Linked DNA regions of Homo sapiens: all the other regions are linked to region 1. The links are contacts of gene promoters, found by promoter capture Hi-C in human tissues and cell types (Jung and others, 2019). All regions are on one chromosome and are shown on one strand. Each heading gives the region's core, a stretch centred on a gene start or on the middle of the fragment in contact. The rest is flanking DNA. Distances are from core to core; before and after follow the strand shown. Region 1 holds the start of SYT8 (synaptotagmin 8). Region 2 has its middle 8.7 kb from the start of FAM99B. Region 3 holds the start of KRTAP5-3 (keratin associated protein 5-3).

The links. Contacts are between HindIII fragments. The study calls those that stand out against the background at their distance.
Region 2: a contact is called between a fragment that was not itself captured here and the fragment with the promoter of SYT8 in region 1, in 5 of the 25 tissues and cell types used here (bladder, mesenchymal stem cells, mesendoderm cells and 2 more).
Region 3: a contact is called between the fragment with the promoter of KRTAP5-3 here and the fragment with the promoter of SYT8 in region 1, in 1 of the 25 tissues and cell types used here (liver).

Annotation. Positions count from the first base shown.
Region 1 is chr11:1,832,798-1,836,239 of GRCh38, reverse strand. SYT8 (synaptotagmin 8) reads right to left here and starts at 1,250. Exons shown (of 8, transcript NM_001394072.1): 1 at 1,041-1,250; 2 at 781-944; 3 at 256-354; 4 at 1-114. The coding sequence starts at 1,134. RefSeq lists enhancers at 2,060-2,673, 2,674-3,289 and a silencer at 3,392-3,442. The HindIII fragment of the contact is 28,273 bases long and covers 1-3,442 here.
Region 2 is chr11:1,675,062-1,678,878 of GRCh38, reverse strand. No RefSeq gene overlaps it. Among named protein-coding and RNA genes, the nearest start is that of FAM99B, 8.7 kb to the left of the region's middle. The HindIII fragment of the contact is 6,262 bases long and covers 1-3,817 here.
Region 3 is chr11:1,606,743-1,610,979 of GRCh38, reverse strand. KRTAP5-3 (keratin associated protein 5-3) reads left to right here and starts at 2,517. Exons shown (of 1, transcript NM_001012708.2): 1 at 2,517-3,415. The coding sequence starts at 2,595. The coding sequence ends at 3,311. The HindIII fragment of the contact is 8,426 bases long and covers 1-4,237 here.

The DNA.
Region 1 (3,442 bases), core at 1-2,500:
GTGCACTTTTGTCTCATGTCTGTGTCCGGCCTGGGTGGAGACGCTGACCCGGGCATAGGGGTCCACGGTGCCCCCAGGCCTCAGGTCGGCTGCCTGCCTCAGGCCCACCCTGATCTGGGAGCCAGCGGGGTGGGCTCAGCCAAGGGCCCCTGCCCTGTCAGCTCCCCACCACCCAGGGCATGGGGTCTGCCCTTCCCCCGTCACCCTTTCCGGAAACTCGCAGAACCGCTGGTCCTGCGCAGCGGGGCCCTTCACCTCCTGGCTTCCAAAGTCGAACTCCAGGGAGAGCTGCAGGCACCCCCATTGCTGAGCATCCCCCGGGCTGGACTCCAGGCCATCCACATCAGGTTGCACCTGGAGTGAGTTGGGACAAGGGGCAGGTGGTGCTGACATCATGCCTCATCAGAGCCCTGGGCTCCCGGGCAGCCCTTGCATGACATGGGTCAAGACCCCCCGCCTCCAGGCCAGGCCACCCAACAGGCACAAATCGTCGGCTTCGCTCTGTGAGACCGGCCAAACCCACCCAAAACGTGGCATCTGGGGTACCCCCTGCCTTCCTCAAGAACCCGCTGTGGCTCCCTCGGGCCCATGGGGCAGCCCCTGTTGCATGGCCTCCTTCTCACCTCTGTTCACCCACTTTCCCTGCCAGGAAGGTCCTCAACGCCCTGCCTCTGTGGGGGTTAAACCATCCCTGGGGCTGAACTCGCCTCGCTGCCCTGGGCTCTGGAGCCTGGATTTCAAGCCCTCTCTGGACTGAGTGAGCAAGGAGCCGCTCCTCACCAGGTGGGTGGTGGTGGTGCCGCGGGCACTGCCCAGACCCACGGACTCCTTGTCCCTGGGCTTCTTCCTGTGGCGGCGGCAGCAGCAGCAGGCAGCACAGAGGAGGCAGGAGACGAGGAGGACGCCCGCGGCAAGGGCGCCGGCAATGAGAGCCCAGCGGGGCCCTGGGGTAGAGGCCAGGCTGAGTGCATCTGTGGACAGCTGCAGCCCCCACTTGGCTGGGTTATCCCCACACCCCTCTTGGGAATCCCACAACTCACAGGGGGTCCCGGCGACAAGGTCTGGAATAAGCCCAGGTATAGCTGTGGTGCCAGCTGGGGCCGGGGCACTGGGAGAGACTGGTGGGTGCCCCATCTTTCTACCCTGCTGGTTTGGAAGAAGCGGCCCAGGAGGCTGGGTCAGCTGGGAGGGTGGCCCCTCCGGCCCCTGCCCGCTACCCCATCTGACTAGCAGCAGCCAGTGCTGGGTCTGCCAGGGCAAGGAGGCAGCACGGGGTGGCCAGGGGCGAGGGTTCTGTGCAGCAGGAAGCTGAAGGGAGGGAGGCTCTGGACCCTGGCCAAAGCTCCAGCTTAGCTGCCCAGGCCCAGCCTCCCAGCCACCTCCCAGCAGCCCCCAGCCCCAGCCAAGCAGGCAGGGCCTGGGCAGCCTAGTCCCTGCCTTCACCGGACCTCAGAGCACCCTTGCCCCCACTGTAGGATGCGTCCTCCACCAGGAAGCTCTCTCCCTCCCTGCTTCTCTCTCCTGGGCCCTGGACCCTGGGCCCTGCCTGGGGGTCCCATCTCATCCCTGGGGGTCTCATCTCTGCGGTCCCATCACTTCCTTGCCTCTACCCCAGCACGCACCACAGCTGGGGCCCACCATGGTTTGCCAGCCATGCAGGTGGAGCATGTTCACTGCAGCCCCCAGGAACTTGGAAGCCCAGAGGGGTCTGCAGGGTCATGGCGGGAGGAGCAGGGCTGGCTGTCGGCGGAGCTCACTGAGCAGGCCTGGGCTAAAGGTGCATTCCTGGCAGGGGCTCAGGGCCGCAGCGCCTGAGGATGAAGGTGAGGTGGTGGCAGGTAGGGGCAGGGTGCAGCTGGGAGCGGCCAGAACATTCCACACACACTGACTCAGCCGCTGCCTGGACTCGTCCACCTGCCTGCCTGGCCACCCTTCGGCATGTGGGTGGGAAGGAAGGTGGGGCGGGCGCAGCTGCTGGCCCCTGTACCCGCCTGCCTAGGGCCTGGGGAGGGAGCACACCTGGCTGGGCTGGCTCCTGTCACCTACAGGCAGGGGAACCAGGGTGCTACATGGGGCCTACGGTGACCCCAGGCCCAGGGTGACTCCCCAGCTCAGCTCTTCCCTGACTCCACCCGCTCCAGAGAGCAGCAGCCAGCCAGGAGACTCTGTTCCTCCACATTGGCGCCTCCCCTGCTTTGCCCACAAGAGCCTGGGACCCCTCTTGCCATGTCCAAGTCAGCCTGGCCTCAGGGGCCCAGCCCAGGCCATCCCATCGGGAATAAGCAGCTGTTGAGGCCAGATACCCTCACCTCTGCAGCCCCCCAGTCTGGGGCAGAGCAAGGAGACAGACAGAAAGGGACCCTGCCATGACTCCAGACACACACACACACACACACACACACACACACACACACACACACACACGCACGCGCACACAGCATCAATGCCCCACTCCCTGGCAGGCTGGGAGAGGCAGCTGCACTCCCAGAACGGACCCAAACCCCCAGTGTTCAGATGAGGGGGCTGCAGCTCAAGGAGGGGAGGGAGGGTCCAGGTTCCAGCCCCACACGCATGTTGACCCTGTGAGGTCAGCAGGCCAGGTGTTTTACAGACGAGTGGACCGAGGCTGGGAGCTCTAGTTTTGTGGCTCTGGAGGCCAGCATGGCCTGGGAAGCCCAGCCTGTCCCCAGAACACAGGGGCCAGCACAATGGAGGGATTATAGGTACAAAAAGGAGATGCGGAGGTCAGGGCCAGCTTTCCAGGCTGCACCCTGTGCGCAGGGCCCCATGCTCAGAGGGGTCCCTGCTTGGTTTAATGCGTGCTGGGGCCATCTTGAAATTCTTAATTTTGGAACAAGATGCTGCACATTTTCATTCTGCACTGGGCCTCACAAATGACGGAGCTTGTCGAGTTCGGGGGACCCTTTGGGTGAGTCCCCTGCAGATGCAGTGTGGGTGTGCAGTGAAGCTCACGGGCCTCGGCAGCCCCTCAGCTCCTGGGGGACACTCCCAGGTGGGTCCGGCGTCCCACACGTGGCTGGCGGAGCGCTCCTACTGGTGGTGGCTGATGGAATGGGCTGGGTCCGCAGGGTCCCTGGAGCGGGACTGTGCCGGCCAGATTCAAACAGGCCACTGCCTCCTCCCTACGTGGAGTTTCAAGGCAACTTCTCTTTTTGAAATGTCAGAGCCTGTATACATGCTGAGATTAAAGTAGCTTCACTCCAGATTTTTATGGTTGAGATTCCGGATAAGTTGCCAATACAGAATCTCCATCTGTGAGTGCGGGCATGTGTGCGTGTGCGTGTGCGTGCGCCCCTCCCCTGTGCCCCCGCTTTGCTGGCGTCCCCCCTCCTTTAGTCTAAGAACAGTCAGGGCCGGGCGGGGAGAGCTCCCCTGCAGTGATTTGCCGCGGCCGGCCAGCGGCACTCCCGGGCCAGCCTGG
Region 2 (3,817 bases), core at 68-2,567, 160 kb after region 1:
TTTCATCCTTTGTGAATTTCCAGAATCACATAAATAGACCCACTGCTCTTCCTGCCTCGCTAGAATAAACCATACTTGAGCTCAGTGTCTGGCACATGGCAGTTGCTCAATAGATATCTGTTGCGTAAAATGAACGAAGGGGCAAGAACATGGAGAAAACCACCTCTGTGGTTCAGGCATGAAGGGCCTGCTGCAATGGAGCTGTAGGGGCACTGAGGAAACCCTCCCTGGGGCCGGGCGTGGTGGCTCACACCTGTAATCCCAGCACTTTGGGAGGCCAAGGCGGGCAGATCACGAGGTCAGGAGTTCGAAACCAGCCTGGCCAACGTGGCAAAACCCCATCTCTAATAAAAATACAAAAAAATTAGCCCAGCGTGGTGATACACGCCTGTAGTCCCACCTACTTGGGAGGCTGAGACAGGAGGATGGCATGAACCCGGGAGGTGGAGCTTGCAGTGAGCTGAGATCACGCCACTGCACTCCATCCTGGGCGACAGAACAAAACTCTGTCTCAAAAAAAGAAAAAAGAAAATCCTCCCTGGTCCCCAGCCCCAGGCTTCAGCACCAGGTAAGGGTGAGCTTGCCTAGGAGGCCTCGCAGTCTCTGACGCCCTGAGGTAATGGCGGCCACACCTCACCCTGACCCGGCCCACCCATGGCCCAGGCTGGCACAGATCCCACATTCATACCCAGAAGAAGGGGATCCAAAGCCATCTGGGGCATAAAGGCTACCTGCCTCCGTCTCTATTATTCTCTGGACACAGTGTCTGAAATTCAATTAAAATTTATGAGATAGCAAGGAAGGAAGGTAAAATGAACCATGGCCATGTGATAAAACAATTAATAGAATCCAACTTTGAGATGACTCCAATGTTGACACTGTTGCACAGGGACTTTAAAATAACTCACAGGCCAGGTGCGGTGACTCACTCCTGCAATCCCAGCACTCTGGGAGGCCGAGGTGAGCGGATCATGAGGTCAGGAGTTCGAGACCAGCCTGGCCAACAAGGTGAAACCCCATCTCTACTAAAAATACAAAAATTAGCTGGGCATGGTGGCAGGTGCCTGTGGTCCCAGTTACTCGGGAGGCTGAGGCAGGAGAATCGCTCGAACCCGGGAGGCAGAGCTTGCAGTGAGCTGAGATTACATCACTGTACTCCAGCCTGGGTGACAGAGCTAGACTCCATCTCAAAAAAACAAATAAATAAATAAAAATAACTGTGATGGGTATGTTTAGTCAATATGCATTAACAGGTGAGGAATTTCAACAGATAAATGAAAACTGAAAAAAACTAGAACACTGTTTTTATTTATTTATTTTTGAGATGGAGTCCCACACTGTTGCCCAGGCTGGAGTGCAGTGGTGTGATCTTGGCTCACTGCAACCTCTGCCTCCCATGTTCGAGTGATTCTCCTGCCTCAGACTCCCCAGTACTGGGATTACAGGCGTGTGCCACCATGCCCAACTATGTTTTGTATTTTTAGTAGAGACGGGGTTTCACCATGTTGGTCAGGCTGGTCTTGAACTCCTGACCTCAGGTGATCCACCCACCTTGGCCTCCCAAAGTGCTGGGATTATAGTCCCAGCTACTTTGGAGGCTGAGGCAGGAGGATCTCTTGAGCCCAGGAGTTAGAGGCTGCAGTGAGCTGTGATCGAACCACTGCACTCCTGCCTGGGCAACAGAGCGTGGCCCTGTCTCAAAAAAAACAAAAGTCAAATGGAAATAGCCTCTCCACCACCGCCCCCCCACCAACAATATCAACATTCTTATCATAGGCTAATTAACACACTGGAAAGAACTAAGGAAAGAATCCATAAACTGGGAGACAGGTGAGTAGAAGTCATCCAAAATGAACACAAAGAGAAAAAAGACAAAGAGAGAGAACTAAATCAAGCATCCAAGACCTTTAAAACACTTCAACACACTCTAGTGAATGTCCACTTATGATCCTAAGAGGAAAGAAGAAATCGTGGAAGAAAAGCTACTTGGAGAGATGGTGGCTGAGAGTCTCCCAAAGCTAGTCAAAGACAAAAAAAATCACATATTTGAGAATTTTGGAGAGCCCTAAGCAGAATAAACACAAACACTCCTGTTAGAACTAATAAAAAATCCAGCAAAGGTGCAGAGTGTAGTATCAATACACAAAAATCCACTGAATTTCTATACATTAGTAATAGACAATCTGAAAATGAAATTAAGAAAATTTTAAATAATAATAGAATAAAATACAGAAGCATATACGTAACCAAAGAAGTATAAGAGTTAAATGCTAAAACCCCCAAATCCTGCTGAGAGGAATTAAAGAAAACATGAGCAACTGGGGAGGCCGCCCGTGTTCATGGGCCAGAGGCACAATCACGTTAACATGGCAATTTGTAAATCCAATATAATCCCTGTCAAAATCCAGCAGGCATTTGTGCAAAATTTGACAAATTGATCCTAATATTTACAAATGAAAATGAAAGGAAAGCCACCGATTAGGATAAAATATTGACAAATCATATAACTGATAAAAGATTGTATCCAGAATAGAAAAAAGAGCTAAAAACTTCATGACAAAAATAACTTAAAGGACCCGGTATGGATAAAACAATTTTTTAAAAGAACAAAATTTAGTAACAAAGACAGTCTCGTATTGGTTTCACTGTAGCCACACAGATCAATGAAACAGGATCAAAAGTCCAGGAAAAAAAAAAAACGTTTTATGTAGATTGTCAATTGATTTTTGACAAAGGCAACAAACAGAACTCAGTCGGGGGACAGACAGTCTTTTCCACAAATAGTGCTGGGACATCTGGATAGCCACATGAGAAAGAAGTTTGGAACCCTATCTCATGTCCTCCACAAGAATTAACACAAAGAGGGTTACATGAAAACCGGGAACTAAAACTTGTAGAAAACATGGGAGAAAGTCAAGGAAGCTGTGGGCCAGGTGCAATTCCTTAGCCATGACATCAAAAATAAGATCGTAAAATAAAACATTGATAGGGTGAACTTCATCGAATTTTTTTCAAATGTGTGCTTCAAAAGACACTAACAAGAAATCGGAAGATAAGTCGCAGATCTGGAGGATGTATTTGCAAACCATATCACTGATGAAAGATTGAACCCAGAATGGAAAAGGAACTAAAAAATTAATGACAAAAACAGCTCCGTTAGAAACAGGCAAAACATCTGCGTAGACATCCAATTTCATAATTTGTGAGAAATGTATTTAGTACCGTACACCTCTCAGTAACAGCTGCTTCACTCTGCCCCGTCCTTCTAATGTGCAATGTTTTTATTACTTTTTAATAATTATGATTATCTCTTTAACCCCAAATTTATGGTAATAGACTATTTGGTTTCCAAACATACAATATTTGCACTATCCCTTTTGTGACTTAATTTCTAATTTTTTTTTTGCCCTGTGGTTGGAAAATATATTTCTGTATGTTGATCATTTGACTGTCAGAAAGCTGCATTGTGGCTTAATGTTTTAATCCTTTTGTAGCCTTCTTTCAGTCCACATACAATTGGCTTGCATTTTCCCTTCCTGTTATTGTCAACTATTCTGTGTCTCTCGCGGGTAACATCGTTTAACTCCATCCATACTCTTGTGTCTTTTAATTGGTAAGTTTAATTTATTCGTTCTTCTGATAACCTGTTGTATCAGGATTCAAAAGTCCTGCTGTCTTAAATCAGGTTTTCTGTTTTGCTGTAGTCCTTTTTCTTTCTTATTATTTTCATGACCATGTTCCCTTCCCAGGGCTGGTCATTTGAGGAGCTGCCAGATTAAGACCTTTGTTGTCCCAGGACAAGCTCCGTTGCAGAGGC
Region 3 (4,237 bases), core at 1,268-3,767, 230 kb after region 1:
TGTTATTCATCATCGCCCCAAACTGTGAACGATTCAAATATGTATGAACGTGAGAACGGGGGAACGCAGTGGAGAATATTTTTACATGGAATAAGGGGGGCCCCACCCCTCATATTTTCTTATGCCCAATTTCTGTCTCCAAAGAAAAAAGAAGTAAAAACTAAATCCACAGGCAGACAGCCCGGTGCCACACCCTGGGCCTGGTAGTTAAAGATTGACCCCTGACCTAATCGGTTATATTATCTATAGATTCCAGACATTGTATGGAAAAGCATTGTGAAAATCCCTGTCCTGTCCTGTTCCGTTCTGATTGCCGGTGCATGCAGCCCCCAGTCACGTACCCCCTGCTTGCTCAATCGATCACGACCCTCTCACACAGACCCCCTTAGAGTTGTAAGCCCTTAAAAGGGACAGGAATTGCTCACTTGGGGAGCTTGGTTTTTGGAGACCTGAGTCTGCCAATGCTCCCAGCTGAATAAAGCCCTTTCCTTCTACAATTCAGTGTCTGAGGGGTTCTTGTCTGCGGCTCGCCCTGCTACAGAAACACTATGCGGTGATTACAAAAGAAGAAGAAGGCCAGGCGTGGTGGCTCATGCCTGTAATCCCAGCACATTGGGAGGCTGGGGCAGGTGGATCGCTTGAGCCCAGGAGGTCGAGGCTGCAGTGAGCCATGAGCGCACCACTCTGCACTCCAGCCTGGGTGACAGAGCAAGACCCTGTCTCAAAAAAAAAAAAAAAAAAAAAAAAAGAAGAAGAGCAAATCATTGACACACAGAATAACATCGTGAGGGAAAGAAACCAGAGTACATTTTTAATGATTTCATTTTTGCAACATTCAACAACAGGCACAACTGGTCAGCAGAGCTGTGCCTGGAGCGATGGGCAGGAAGGGAAGGCGGCGAAAGGGAAACTTCTGGGGGTGAAGCAGTTGGTCATGGTTGGAGTGATGGGCACACGAGTACATGTTTAGCGGAACTCATGGAATTGTACACTCAAAATATGTGCAGAGCCCAGGAGACCAAGGCTGCAGTGAGCTAGGATCACACCACTGCCCTCCAGCCCGGGCGACAGAATGCGACCCCGTCTCAAAAAAAAAAAAAAAAAAATGCAGCCCAAGCCTGGTGGCTCATGCCTGTAATCCCAACACTTTGGGAGGCCAAGGCAGGTGGATCACCTGAGGTCAGGGGTTCGAGACCAGCCTGGCGAACATAGTGAAACCCCGTCTCTACTAAAAATACAAAATTAGCTGGGTGTGGTGGTGGGTGCCTGTAATCCCAGCTACTTGGGAGGCTGAGGCAGGAGAATTGCTTGAACTCGGGAGGCAGAGGTTGTAGTGAGCTGAAATTGCATCACTGCACTCCAGCCTGGGTGACAGAGGGAGACTCAGAAAAAAAATTTTTTTTCACTGCATGTAAATTTTACCTTAATAAAAAATTAAAATTTGGCTGGGTGCAGTGGCTCACACCTGTAATCCCAGCACTTTGGGAGACTGAGGCGGGTGGTTCACCTGAGGTCAGGAGTTCGAAACCAGCCTGCCCAACATGGTGAAACTCTGTCTTCACTAAAAATACAAAAAAATTAGCCAGGCCTGGTGGTGGGCGCCTGTAATTCCAGCTACTGGGGAGGCTGAGGCAGGAAAATTGCTTGAACCCAGGAGGCAGAGATTGCAGTGAGCCGAGATTGCGTCACTGCACTTTAGCCCTGGTGACAAGAGCGATACTCCTTCTCAAAAAAAAAATATTAAAATTAATCTTTTAGAAAATAAAAGTGTGTTAGAGAGGTTGGCTAATCAAAATTTTTGTAGCCTTCAAGAAGAATAAACTTGAAGAATATCCATTGATTTGTAGAATTTTTACAAAGAATTAATAGAGGAAAACTCAAAAGCATTAGAAAGGGTCCTGTTCCTCTGTTCCCTCTGTGAGCCCAGCTTGCCTGAAGGGAACGTGGGTCTAATCCGTGTCTGGAGGAGTGAGCCAAACCGCAGGAGGAAGAGGTAAGAAAGACAAAGGAGAACCAGGGCCACACTCAAATCCATGCTCTTCAAAACTTTGTTTTACAGATTTGACAAAATATTTATACTTGAAGTTTTTAAGCGGTGGAACCTATAGACAGCCTTTCTTTCAGCTTATTTTTTTAATTTTTATTTTATTTTATTTTTTACCAAATGACCATCCTTGATATAAACACCAATGCCAGGGGGTGGAGGGTCTGCATCGCTGAGGAGAGCCCTGAGCACCAAGGACAATGGTCCACCCTTCGGCCAAGCAACCACCGCCTCCCAGGCTCCTGGGACACCCACTGGAGAGGGAGCCCAGTGTCTTCTAACAAAGGGAAACACCTATGAGGAAGAGGCCAAATTTAGAAACCAAGGAAAGGACAGCTTGGCTTGAGCTGATGGTGGCTCATGGGATTGTGGAGAGATTAAAAATAACACTTGTGCATGTGAAATAGCAGAAACAACAACAGAAGTATTCACGTGTTCAGTATAAACACCTGGGCAGGAATATAAAGAGCCCGGGCTCAGAGAACTCCACACCTGCACACCTCCCTCTCACCTGCTCCTCTACCTGCTCCACCCTCAACCCACCAGAACCATGGGCTGCTCTGGCTGCTCTGGAGGCTGTGGCTCCAGCTGTGGGGGCTGTGGCTCCAGCTGTGGGGGCTGTGGCTCCGGCTATGGGGGCTGTGGCTCCGGCTGCTGTGTACCTGTCTGCTGCTGCAAGCCCGTGTGCTGCTGTGTGCCAGCCTGTTCCTGCTCCAGCTGTGGCTCCTGTGGGGGCTCCAAGGGGGTCTGTGGCTCTTGTGGGGGCTGCAAGGGGGGCTGTGGCTCCTGTGGAGGCTCCAAGGGGGGCTGTGGCTCCAGCTGCTGTGTGCCCGTCTGCTGCTCCTCCAGCTGTGGCTCCTGTGGGGGTTCCAAGGGGGTCTGTGGATTTCGTGGGGGCTCCAAGGGGGGCTGCGGTTCTTGTGGCTGCTCCCAGTGCAGCTGCTATAAGCCCTGCTGCTGCTCCTCAGGCTGTGGGTCATCCTGCTGCCAGTCCAGCTGCTGCAAGCCCAGCTGCTCCCAGTCCAGCTGCTGTAAGCCCTGCTGTTCCCAGTCCAGCTGCTGTAAGCCCTGCTGCTGCTCCTCAGGCTGTGGGTCATCCTGCTGCCAGTCCAGCTGCTGCAAACCCTGCTGTTCCCAGTCCAGCTGCTGTAAGCCCTGCTGCTGCTCCTCAGGCTGTGGGTCATCCTGCTGCCAGTCCAGCTGCTGCAAGCCCTGCTCCTCCCAGTCCAGCTGCTGTGTCCCAATTTGCTGCCAGTGCAAGATCTGAGGCTCTGCCCACAAACCTCAGTGGGTCCTACAGATCCGGGCTCTCCAGGAATGATTGCAGCTGTGTCCTGAATTCCTGAAGCACGTCTCTGAATCTGTCCTCCTCTGGACTAAGGCAGCCTAGCGTCCAGGGCTCAGTACTCAGCCGCTCAGCCTCTGAGGTCATGAGGGCTTCTGGCATGCTGGGTCCTGCCCATCAACCCTCCCGGAATCCCGTCTTCCTTTCCTGACCCCACCACTTCAACCTTCTCAGGGCTTCAAGATCCCACATCCCTGGGCCCCTCCTGTGAGCCTGCTGGAAACACGCTGACACTGGAATCCTCCGACCTGCTGCCGCCTCTCCCCGGTCCCCGCAACCTCCTGGCTCCTCCCCGCTTCGTCTTCATCCTGCCTGAGCTGCCACCGCTCCGATTGCTTTTGGAGTTGACCTAGAGGACTCGGAATTATTGGAGACCCCAGGATCCTCTCCTGAGGAGGAGGGGCGCCCAGTCTCCTCTTCTACCTCCGACCTGGCCCTGTTTCTTTCCCCAGGGCTTCGCCTTGTAAGTGCCTAGGCTAGATCTTCTAAATAAATACGATCTGCACCTCCCACGAGTTTGCATTGTGATTCTTTTGTTTCAACTTCTGTGTGATTAGAGAAATGTACACTTTCCACAGAGTTGCACTCCCAGGCATTTGGGAACCCCCCGTACCCTGCTGTGTGAGTTTGCTAGGGCTGCTCCACAAACCGTGTGGCTTAAGCAACAGGAGTGGATTGTCTCACAGTCTGGAGTCCGGAATCCGCCATCGAGGTGCCTCAGGGCCGGGTCCTCCTGAGGCCTCCCTCCGTGGCTTACTGATGCCGCCATCCCTATATCCTCACGTACTCATCCCTCTGTGTGTGTCTGCGTCCTCATCTCTTTGCATAAGGACACAGATTAGACTAGG